Linked DNA regions of Homo sapiens: region 1 is linked to region 2. The links are contacts of gene promoters, found by promoter capture Hi-C in blood cells and fetal thymus (Javierre and others, 2016). All regions are on one chromosome and are shown on one strand. The core of a region is centred on a gene start or on the middle of the fragment in contact, and the rest is flanking DNA. Distances in the headings are between cores, read along the strand shown.

Region 1 (6,421 bases), core at 935-3,434, 510 kb before region 2:
CTCCCAGTGATTTTAGGAACAAATTTGAAAAATGAACTGAAGTACCACTTTAAAACATCTGAGCCCAAGACACAATTGTAAAAGTTCCTGTCTAACTTAAACTCACATTTTTCATAAAGCTATTAATTTGATAGTCTCAAACAGGGGTTCTCAATCTGGGTCCTTGGGTGAACTTCAGGCAGTCCATACTTCTACAACTGGGGGCAAAGGTGTATGCCCGTATGTACATGCACAGTATCTACAGAGTCCTCAAAGCTTTCATCACTTCTCTAAGGGACCCGTGATCCTCCGAGAAGGCTAAGAACCACTAATGGGGTCGAGAATAGAAAGAATACTACAAGCTGACTACTCAATACTATAAAATCCTCATGAAGGTTTTAGAAAAGGAATTAAATGAAAATATTCTACAACTATAAACAACTGTAAAATTTAATATTAAATGAAGAACTTAAAAAAACTGCTACCAACTCACTGGTGACAACCCAGAACTTTTGGCCTGAATAATGAAAATGGAATGCCTGAGCTGATGTATGGCTGCTTTGGTGGCACATTATCATGATCATGTGTGGAGGTACGTAACATACACCTCCTAGCTACTTAATTCCGTGATTTGGGAACTTAAGCCCTTGTCCTGGGCTTTAGTTCTTACAAAAGCAAAGATGGTATAAAACCAAAACTGGCACATTAATATAGTAAAAACCAGACTAGCTTTCCCACATTCAACTGAACAAACAAGGAACAAATATTGGCTATGTTCACAATTCAAAATATCATCTGTGGCTCTATGAAGGGTGACCATTTGATAAGGCATAAATACACAATGAACATAAATGAACACCAAAACAACAACAAAAAAACCCAAATAAACAAAAAACCCAGGTTGGCCTCAAGATTAGACAAGTACAATTTATATCTTCTTATGAAATTTTTGACAAGCAATAATGAAGTAGCAAATTTTCTACAAGTTTTTAATTTAAATGAAATTTCTAATATTTATTCCCTGCATGATAATAACATACATATACAAACTCACATGCTTCATTTTGGCATTACTCTTGTGAAGTAGGAAAGGGTGAGAATTACTGCTGATTACGGATAAGAAACAAAACATGGTACTGATGGATTAAACTTTTTACTCAAGGCCATGATCCCTTCCCACCTATCTCCTCCATCCAACACATAAACAATTTACAGTCTTGTATATTAATATCAAATTAAGGGCACAAAATTAATATTCAATACTTTTTTTTTTTTTTTTGAGACGGAGTCTCGCTCTTTCACCCAGGCTGGAGTGCAGTGGCGCAATCTCAGCTCACTGCAACCTCCGCCTCCCGGGCTCAAGCGATTCTCCTAATTCAGCCTCCCAAGTAGTTGGGACCACAGGTGCCCGCCACCACGCCCGGCTAATTTTTATATTTTTAGTAGAGATGGGGTTTCACCATGTTGGCCAGGATGGTCTCGATTTCTTGACCTCATGATCCACCCGCCTCGGCCTCCCAAAGTGCTGGGATTACAGGCATGAGCCACTGCGCCTGGCCTATTCGATATTATTTTATTCATCAATAATTATGGGATTAGAGGAAAAAAAAGCCAAAGAACAATAAATCACAGGAAGAACAGTCAGAAGTATATACTAGTTTAAGAGGGATCTTTTTTTTTTTTTTTTGAGACAGAGTCTTGCTCTGTTGGCCAGGCTGGAGTGCAGTGGTGCGATCTGGGCTCACTGCAACCTCCGCCTTCCGGGTTCAGACAATTCTCCTGCCTCAGCCTCCTGAGTAGCTGGGATTACAGGCACCCGCCACCACGACCAGCAAATTTTTGTATTTTTAGTAGAGACAGGGTTTCACCATGTTGGCCAGGCTGGTCTCAAACTCCTGACCTCAGGTGATCCGCCCGCCTCAGCCTCCCAAAGTGCTGGGATTAGAGGTGTGAGCCACTGTGCCCAGCCAGAGGGATCGTTTAATTACTCTCAAGTATGTATGAATAGCACTCTTATCGTGAAGAACTCTCTGAGAGACCACTACAAACCTGAAAAGACTAATAAGTGTTTATTAGTCTCAATTATTTAAATGGCTGATGCTACATAGACATAATATTTGAAAAGGATTGGTTTTAGCAGACTAAAGGTTTGCCTTTTAATACTGTTCACACTTTTCAATTGCTTAGGAAGCACTGTGTGCATGTGTATGTACATGTATGTGTATAAATGTAAAAGAATATATAATTGTTTTACATATATATAATGTAAATTAACTTTTAGCTCAGCCTCTGCATGACTTACAAATAATTAACTAGTATCAAAATAAATTATTTATCTACTGTTTCCAACCACTGCACATAAAAAGCCACATGGCCCCAAAAAGAAAACAACACAAACAGTAAACAAAAACTCACCTGGCATGTTCTTCAGGAAGTTTTCTTTGTCGCTGCATATGAAACATTAGGTCTCCTCCATTTACATACTCTATAACAAAGAACAATCTAAAACACAGGAGAGAACCCATGAAATCAAGATCCAAAATAAGGTAGTGTAACTTTGCATTTTCAGAAACCATCACAACAGAGAGCATTCTCTACTATTTAGCCTTTAAAAAGATGCCAAAATTTTGGTGGAAACAAAGGGTATCTAGGGTACGGAACATACGAGAAAGTAAACCAGCATGATAATAATTTTGTAACCTACTACTTCTGTTCTAAAGTAGTACCACTTGCAATCCAGAGCCACTCATTACCATCCTAATTTTAGCATTTGCTAAATAAGTCATTTTCGACTGTCAAGGTATTTTTCCTCCTTGTTAAATGCTAGAAAATTTTAAGTCATAAAACTAGAATACTGGGGATATTTAAAAGGTTGGATTTCTACTGCCATAATTACGACATGGCTATTTCCTGTTCTGCCTAAAGTAGGTCATTTCCTAATGCTGATCTAATATCAAACTGATATCACTGATGGCAGTATTATTAGCAGGAAGTTATAAGCCTAACACTGTTGCATCCTCCATGATATCAACTTCATGAATTAGGGCAGAAAGGTTCTAACTGTGTAATATGACCAAAAATATGAAGCCCAGTAATCATTCTACTATCTTTCAATCTTACCTGCTTTCTGTCTGAAAGCAAGAATGCAGCCCAACAAGGAAAGGATGATTGGATGCCTGCTCAAACACATGCTTCTCTGTCTGTACCCAATCAATATCCTATTTTGAAACATGTAAGAAATCTATGTCAAACTGATATCACAATTAATGATAAATTTGCTCTGAGCAATTCAATGGTCACAAATGCAATGGTTAACTAGGCTAAATATCAAAACCATTGATAATCATGAAACGAAAATTTACATACAAAGAGAAAAATAACACTAGTCAATCTTTCAGTATTATAAAACTGTCTAGAAAACTTTTACAAAGCTCAAGTATTTCTCCTGATAATAATGTGGTTTGATTTTTGTTTTTTTAAAAAAATCTAATAATCAAATTACTTTAAATATCTTATACCATCTATAAGAAAAGTAAACCGAAATAATATATTTCATTTACTTAGCACATATTTAGAAAAGCAGAATGAGATAATAAAGCACAAACATAGAGGTTTTCTTTAAAATAGTACTCTTGGCTGGGTGCGGTGGCTCACGCCTATATTCCTAGCAACTTTGGGAGGCTGAGGCGGGTGGATCACTTGAGGTCAGGAGTTCAAGAGCAGCCTGGCCAACATGGTGAAACCCCATCTCTACTAAAAATACAAAAATTAGCTGGGCATAGTGGTGCATGCCTGTAATCCCAGCTACTTGGGAGGCTGAGGCAGGAGAATCACTTGAACCTGGGAGGCAGAGGTTGCAGTGAGCCAAGATTGCACCACTAGCACTCCAGGCTGGGTGACAAGAGCGAAACTCCGTTTCAAAAAAAAAAAAGAATAGTATTCTCAAGCAGTTTAGAAGCAATAAAATATGCAGTGCTTACCTCATCATCATTAACAAGCTCTTTTTTCACAACTTTCATTGCATAAATACGATCTGTTTTTTTTAATCGAACCAACAGTACTTTGGCATAACTTCCTCTTCCTATTACCCGGAGCAAATCAAAATCCTGAAGACCTAGACTGGATGAAGCTTTGCCACTTTCCCTGGTGTTCATTGCCTGTTGAGAACATTTGTATCAGAGTTATAATGGGAAATGCTTTGCGTAGTACATTATATTTCTAACACCTAGTTGTACCTATAACGATTTAAAGATATTTTCCTAACATAAAAATATTTTAAGTTCTTAATATTTTTCAAATGTCATTCCAAACCAAATAATCTAACTATCCAGATTATATGGATGAATTTTGAGATAAGAGGGATGGTAATAAGAATGGGGAGGGAGTTGAAATCACAAAAACATCGAAGGATGTCTTAAAAAGGATACGATAACTTTTGGGTACAGAGGCAATAGAGATGCAGGAATTAAAAAAACACATTAACCTTGGTGACCAAGAGATTGGGGGTACCACTGACAGGGAACGTCAAGTGTGTGGCTAGGATAAGATTGACAAAGTTACTGGAGAGAACGATTGGGTTTTTCATGATAAATTCAGAAGTTATAATGAGACATCAAGATGAAAGAGTCTGCTGGAAGCTTGATACATAGAATGTAAGCTAGTGAGAGCACACATTCAGAGGCGTTTTTGGATGCTATAGACAGAAAACAAGCATGAAGTAGTTCAGCGAATGGAAGACATTCTTTTCCACAGAATACCAAGACCCCTTTGGGACGACAAAGTAAGCCTTAAAATTCATTCACAACTACAAATGTAAGCTTCTAGCAATTTACAGAGAAGCCTGAAGACAGTCTTTTATTAGATGCCTGCAAAATCATCAGCACACAATGGACCCATGAGAATAAAGTATGAAATCTCTGAAGTGAAGAATACCAAGAAAAGCAAATAGTAAATTTTGAGAAAGATAAAGAAACCCGCAAGCACAAAACTGAAAGAAGGGTATTAGAAAAACTGAGTGAGAATGACAACTTAAAAACTTAGAAATAATAATTTAGGCTGCGCACAGTGGCTCATGCCTGTATTTTCAGCACTTAGGGAGGCTGAAGCAGGTGGACTGATTGAGCCCAGGAGTTCAAGACCAGCCTGGGCAATGTGCCAAGAAACCTCATCTCTACCAAAATATACAAAAATTAGCCGGATGTTGGTGGTGTGCACTGTAGTCCCAGCTACCTGGGAGGCTGAGGTGGGAGGATCACCTGAGCCAGGCAGGTCAAGGTTGCAGTGAGCTGTGATTGTGCCAGTGCGCTCCAGCCTGCATCACAAAGTGAGACCCTGTCAATAATAGTAATAATAATAATAATTTGATTTGGTAACAAGGTGATAGTTTGTATATCTGACCCCTCCAAATCTCAAATCTCATGCTGAAATGTGATCCCTAGTGGGAGGTGTTTGGGTCACAGGGACAGATTCCTCATGAATGGCTTGGTGTGTTCCTGTGTAATGAGTGAGTTCAGAGTGTGGCACCTCCCCTGACTCCCTTGCTCCCTCTCTTGCCATGTGGCACACCTGCTTCCCCTTTGCCTTCTGCCAAGACTGAAAGCTTCCTGAGAAGCAGATGCTAGTGCAATACTTACTGATCAGCCTGCAGAACCGTGCACCAAATAAATCTTGTATAAATTACCCAGCCTTAGGTATTCCTTTATTCCTTCCTTCATTTATTTATTTATTTAAGAAAAGGTCTTGTTCTGTCACCCAGGCTGCAGTGCAGTGGCACGAACATAGCTCACTGCAGCCATGAACTCCTGGGCTCAAGTGATCCTCCTGCCTCAGTCTCCCAAGTAGCTGGGGCTACAGGCATGTGCCTCCAAACCCGGCTAATTTTTATTTATTTTTTGTAGACATGGAGGGTCTTGCTATGTTGCCAAGGCTGGTCCTGAACTACTGGCCTCAAATGATCCTCCCGGTCTAAAGTCCTAGGATTATAGGTGTGAGCTGCCACACCCAACCTTCAGGTATTCCTTTGTAACAACACAAAACAGACTAACACACAAGGGTAAATACAGCAGAGTGAAAAGAAACCAGGTTTGAGAAGGTTAAGAAAGAAGAGAAGTGTAAGAAAGTAAGTCAACACATAGACTTGAAATATGGCTAACTGGAAACTATAAGAGAGAATCAAGTGGAGCAAAAAAGATAGAGTTAACTTCACCGACACAATAATAAGGCTGAATGAAATGATAGACGCCACTTAACAGTGAAATGTCATCTTCAAAGGGCCTAAAAAAGAAGAAAACAGCTGACCTAGAATTCTCTATCCTGCAAAAGTAGCTCACAAAGTGAAAGTGAAAGAAAAACATTTTCAGACAAAGAAAAACTGAGTGGATCCATCACTACTAGGTGCTCACTAAAGGAAAAACTAAATTGAGTTCTTGAAGGAGAAAATGCA
Region 2 (5,926 bases), core at 742-3,241:
TATATATTTATATTTATTATATATAAATATAAATTTTTATATATTTATTATATATAAACATAAATTTTTATATATTTATTATATATAAACATAAATTTTTATATATTTATTATATATAAACAAATTTTTATATATTTATTATATATAAACATAAATTTTTATATATTTATTATATATAAACATAAATTTTTATATTTATTATATATAAACAAATTTTTATATTTATTATATATAAACATAATTTTTTATATATTTATTATATATAAACATAATTTTTTATATATTTATGATATATAAATATAATTTTTTATATATTTATGATATATAAATATAATTTTTTATATATTTATGATATATAAATATAATTTTTTATATATTTATGATATATAAATATAATTTTTTATATATTTATGATATATAAATATAAATTTTTATATATTTATGATATATAAATATAAATTTTTATATATTTATGATATATAAATATAAATTTTTATATATTTATGATATATAAATATAAATTTTTATATATTTATGATATATAAATATAAATTTTTATATATTTATGATATATAAATATAAATTTTTATATATTTATGATATATAAATATAAATTTTTATTTATGATATCTAAATATAAATTTTTATTTATGATATCTAAATATAAATTTTTATTTATGATATCTAAATATAAATTTTTATTTATGATATCTAAATATAAATTTTTATTTATGATATCTAAATATAAATTTTTATATATGATATCTAAATATAAATTTTTATATATGATATCTAAATATAAATTTTTATATATGATATCTAAATATAAATTTTTATATATGATATCTAAATATAAATTTTTATATATGATATCTAAATATAAATTTTTATATATGATATATAAATATAAATTTTTATATATGATATATAAATATAAATTTTTATATATTTATGATATATAAATATAAATTTTTATATATTTATGATATATAAATATAAATTTTTATATATTTATATTTATGATATATAAATATAAATTTTTATATATTTATATTTATGATATATAAATATAAATTTTTATATATTTATATTTATGATATATAAATATAAATTTTTATATATTTATATTTATACATATAATAAATATAAATATAAATTTTTATATATTTATATTTATACATATAATAAATATAAATATATATATTTCGATTTATATCCTTGCTTAAATATATAAATATATATTTTATAAATATATAAATATATTTATATAATATAACATATATTTATATAAATTATATAAATTTATATATTTTTTAATATTTTATATTTAAATTTATATATATTTATATAAATATATATAAATTTATATTTATTTACATATTTAAGCTAGGAACTACTATTTTGTTTTAATTGCGTACATTTTGCTTGGAAATCACAGGAAGAAACACAACAAAGCATTGCCCAAGGTACAGAAACAATAATAAACGTACTTAAAACTCATTTAAATTCCAGCATTTTTCTCCTTATTTTAGAAGTTTAACATTTCAGAAGCAGACACTGCCTCCCTTCCTGCAACAACTTTCTCCTCTTAAGTCTCATTTTTCCCCAGTTTCAAGGGCGAATTCTAGAACTCCCCGGAACCGCCACCAGTTAACCAGAATTCCGTGGCTTTGGAAAATAAAACTGCTGTTATAGCTCTTCTGGGTATTTGAGAAATGCACTTGTGAAGGGTTAGAGTTGAATCTTTTGATGCGAAAGTCGGGTTTTCCTGATACTGGGATTCCGGGATTCCAGGTGTTGGGGTGGCCCAATTCCTGCGAGAAGCAATAGCGGGCGGTAACATGAGGAGCACGGTGCGTCCAGCGAGTCCTTCCGCCTGGGGCCCTGCCGACCCCCTGCCTGCGCCCCCAGGACTCTGGCCTCACCCGGCCGTGCCGGGGCCTCTGTGACGCGGCGTTCCAGGCACTCGGCCCCGGCCGAGCCCGTAGCTAGAGCGGCTCAGAGACAGGAGGCGGCGGCAGCAGCGGCGGCATGAACCACTGCCAGCTACCGGTGGTGATCGACAACGGCTCGGGAATGATCAAGGCGGGCGTGGCTGGGTGCCGGGAGCCCCAGTTTATCTACCCGAACATTATCGGCCGCGCCAAGGGCCAGAGCCGCGCGGCCCAGGGCGGGCTAGAACTCTGCGTGGGCGACCAAGCTCAGGACTGGAGGAGCTCGCTGTTCATCAGGTACCTCCTTCTCCCAGCAGGCTGCTGGGGCTGGGGAGGGTGGGTGGGGTGGGGGTGGGGTAGGGTGGGGCTGGGGAGGTTGGGGGGTGGGGCTGGGGTGGCTGGGGGTGGGGGGACTGGGGGTGTTGTCGGGGGGCAGGAAAGGACCCCAAAGGAGGTGCGCAATGGGGACAGAAAGAATAAGAAAGCCGGGAGCTGGAAAGCCCCATCCAGCTGGAATTACTACAAACGCACGGGCCACAAATCTCCAAGGGTACCACACATCTAAAAACTGAACATTTTGCTCTCTGTGGCTATACAAATGTATTAAAACGTATAAAGTTATCGAACGAATTCATTTAAGAATATTAACTCATGGTCCCTTTTGTCACTTGGGTTATTCTCTTCAATTGACATTTAAACTATACTATAATGTGGACATTTCCCAATTTTTTAAAAGTCACAAGGTTCCAAAGGACAGAGAAAATGGAAAGCAACAAAAATCGCAGAGGTAGGCCGGGCGCGGTGGCTCACGCCTGTAATCCTAGCACTTTGGGAGGCCGAGCAGGGCGGATCACGAGGTCAGGAGTTCGAGACCATCGTGGCTAACACGGTGAAACCCCGTCTCTACTAAAAATACAAAAAAATTAGCCGGGCGTGGTGGCGCGCGCCTGTAGTCCCAGCTACTCAGGAGACTGAGGCAGGAGAATGGCGTGAACCCGGGAGGCGGAGCTTGCAGTGAGCTGAGATCGCGCCACTGCACTCCAGCCTGGGTGACAGAGCGAGACTCTGTCTCCAAAAAAAAAAAAAAAAATTGCAGAGGTAAGTAGCTGTGCTATTTTTGGCTGACACTTACCTGCTGTGAGAGGCTGTGGCAGTTATTGCCCATAAAGGGATATTGGTAATAAACGCGGGGAATTAACTGAGGGTCGAAGACAATAGAAACTAGAAAAATAAAAAGCTGTCATTGATCTTATTGCTTTCCTTACAGTTACCCAGTGGAGCGTGGTCTCATTACTTCATGGGAGGACATGGAGATCATGTGGAAGCATATCTATGACTATAACCTAAAGCTGAAGCCGTGTGATGGCCCAGTCTTGATTACTGAGCCAGCGCTGAACCCACTGGCCAACCGGCAACAGATCACGGAAATGTTTTTTGAGCATCTGGGTGTTCCTGCCTTCTATATGTCCATCCAGGCTGTGCTGGCTCTCTTTGCTGCTGGCTTCACTACTGGCCTTGTGCTGAATTCAGGTGCTGGGGTTACCCAGAGTGTGCCCATCTTTGAGGGTTACTGTCTGCCTCATGGTGTGCAGCAACTGGATCTGGCAGGCCTTGACCTCACCAACTACCTCATGGTGCTAATGAAGAACCATGGTATCATGTTGCTCAGTGCTTCAGACAGAAAGATTGTTGAAGACATCAAGGAGAGCTTTTGTTATGTGGCAATGAACTACGAAGAGGAAATGGCCAAGAAACCCGATTGTCTAGAGAAAGTTTACCAACTACCTGATGGGAAGGTCATCCAGCTCCATGACCAGCTCTTTTCTTGTCCAGAGGCCCTCTTCTCTCCGTGTCATATGAACCTTGAGGCCCCTGGCATTGATAAGATATGCTTCAGCAGCATAATGAAATGTGATACAGGCCTGAGGAATTCCTTCTTTTCCAATATTATCCTTGCCGGGGGATCAACCTCTTTCCCTGGTTTAGACAAGCGGTTAGTTAAGGATATAGCAAAGGTGGCTCCTGCCAACACCGCTGTGCAAGTTATAGCTCCTCCAGAAAGGAAAATATCAGTGTGGATGGGAGGTTCTATTCTTGCATCCTTGTCTGCCTTCCAGGACATGTGGATCACTGCTGCAGAATTTAAAGAAGTTGGACCCAACATAGTACACCAAAGATGCTTCTGAAATACAGATAAAATGGTTGGAAGAAAATGTTTTGAGTATATGTGACAGAAAACTTTGGATATTATATGTTTCTGGGAGAAGAGAAAATACTTCACCTATTGGGATGCCAATATTTCTGTTGTATTTCTATAATGGGTTTGGGGGATAATAATGGTGAAGCTCAAGAACAGATGTCTATTGAGTAGAACCAAGTTAAAATAATGTTTCCCATAGTGTTTCTTCTATAACTTGACGTTGGTGAGCTTATATTTCCCTTGGAAGAGAGCATTTGTGGTACAATATGCTATGTGCCAAATGAGTGATAAGATTTAAGCTTATTGAAGTTTAGGGAAAGAAGGTTGCTGTGGTGAGGAACGAGACTCCATAGCAGAGGTATGCCATCATGGAAGGGGTGGCATTGGGATGGAGCGCAGATATCCAGGCAAGCATACTAAAATGAACAAGTTGCTAAAGATGAGAATGAACAAAGCATATTCAGGGCATGTTTAATAGACTGATTTTGTTTTTAAAATTTTTGTTTATGTATGTATTTATTCATTTATTTAGTTTTAGAGGCAGAGTCTTGCCCTGTGTCCCAGGCTGGAGTGCAGTAGTGCAATCATAGCTCACTGCAGCCTCCAACTCCTGGGCTCTGCCCTCAGCCTCCCAAGTAACTGAATCCACAGGTATGCACCACCACGCCTAAGTTTAGACTGATTTTGTTCAAGTCAAGAGCTCATATAGAGCAGAACAAGCGCTATGACTAGCAAGGTTAAGTGAAGGCCAGGGACTGAAAGGCTTAAAGTGCTAAATATCCAATATGCAAAGGAGAGAAATTAAAGATTTAAAAGCAGGAGCCATAAGGAAACTATGTTATGATGAATGTGATAGTTTGGAGAATAAATTGAATGAGGAAGGCCCTGGAGATTTGGTGATCAGTTAGAAAGTTACTAGTCCACATATAAAGTGCCAAGTCTTGTACTCAAGATTATAAGCAATAGGAATTTAAAAAAAGAAATTATGAAAACTGACAAGATTTAGTGCCTACTTAGATATGAAGGGGAAAGAAGGGTTTGAGATAATGTGGGATGCTAAGAGAATGGTGGTAGTGTTGACATATAACTCAAAGCATTTAGCATCTACTCTATGTAAGGTACTGTGCTAAGTGCAATAGTGCTAAAAACAGGAGTCAGATTCTGTCCGTAAAAAACTTTACAACCTGGCAGATGCTATGAAAGAAAAAGGGGATGGGAGAGAGAGAAGGAGGGAGAGAGATGGAGAGGGAGATATTTTACTTTTCTTTCAGATCGAGGACCGACAGCGACAACTCCACGGAGTTTATCTAACTGAATACGAGTAAAACTTTTAAGATCATCCTGTCATTTATATGTAAAACTGCACTATACTGGCCATTATAAAAATTCGCGGCCGGGTGCGGTGGCTCATACCTGTAATCCCAGCACTTTGGGAGGCCGAAGCGGGTGGATCACTTGAGCCCTGGCGTTCGAGACCAGCCTGGGCAACATGGTGAAACCCCCGTCTCTACTAAAAACACAAAAACTAGCTGGGCGTGGTGGCAGGCGCCTGTAATCCCAGCTACTCAGGAGGCTGAGACACGAGAATCGCTTGAACCCGGGAGGCAGAGGTTGCAGTGAGCCGAGATCACGCCACTAGACTCCATCCAGCCTGGGCGAAAGAGCAAGACTCCGTCTCAAAAAAAAAAATCGTTACAATTTATGGTGGATTACTCCCCTCTTTTTACCTCATCAAGACACAGCACTACTTTAAAGCAAAGTCAATGATTGAAACGCCTTTCTTTCCTAATAA

The links. The method cuts DNA at HindIII sites, captures the fragments that hold promoters and counts their contacts. A CHiCAGO score of 5 or more calls a contact.
Region 1: a fragment that was not itself captured here is called in contact with the fragment with the promoter of ACTRT3 in region 2 in 1 of 17 cell types (activated CD4 T cells); the score reaches 6.7 in activated CD4 T cells.

What each region holds. Positions count from the first base shown.
Region 1 is chr3:170,277,942-170,284,362 of GRCh38, reverse strand. It overlaps PRKCI (protein kinase C iota), which reads right to left. Exons shown (of 18, transcript NM_002740.6): 9 at 3,960-4,136; 10 at 3,100-3,197; 11 at 2,395-2,481. Among named protein-coding and RNA genes, the nearest start is that of PRKCI, 59 kb to the right of the region's middle. The HindIII fragment of the contact is 3,853 bases long and covers 258-4,110 here.
Region 2 is chr3:169,765,626-169,771,551 of GRCh38, reverse strand. It overlaps ACTRT3 (actin related protein T3), which reads left to right and starts at 1,991. Exons shown (of 2, transcript NM_032487.5): 1 at 1,991-2,231; 2 at 3,202-4,631. The coding sequence starts at 2,032. The coding sequence ends at 4,120. RefSeq lists cis regulatory regions at 1,839, 3,196, enhancers at 1,767-1,911, 2,003-2,262, 3,124-3,268, a silencer at 1,853-1,922 and a promoter at 5,694-5,926. The HindIII fragment of the contact is 4,942 bases long and covers 1-4,435 here.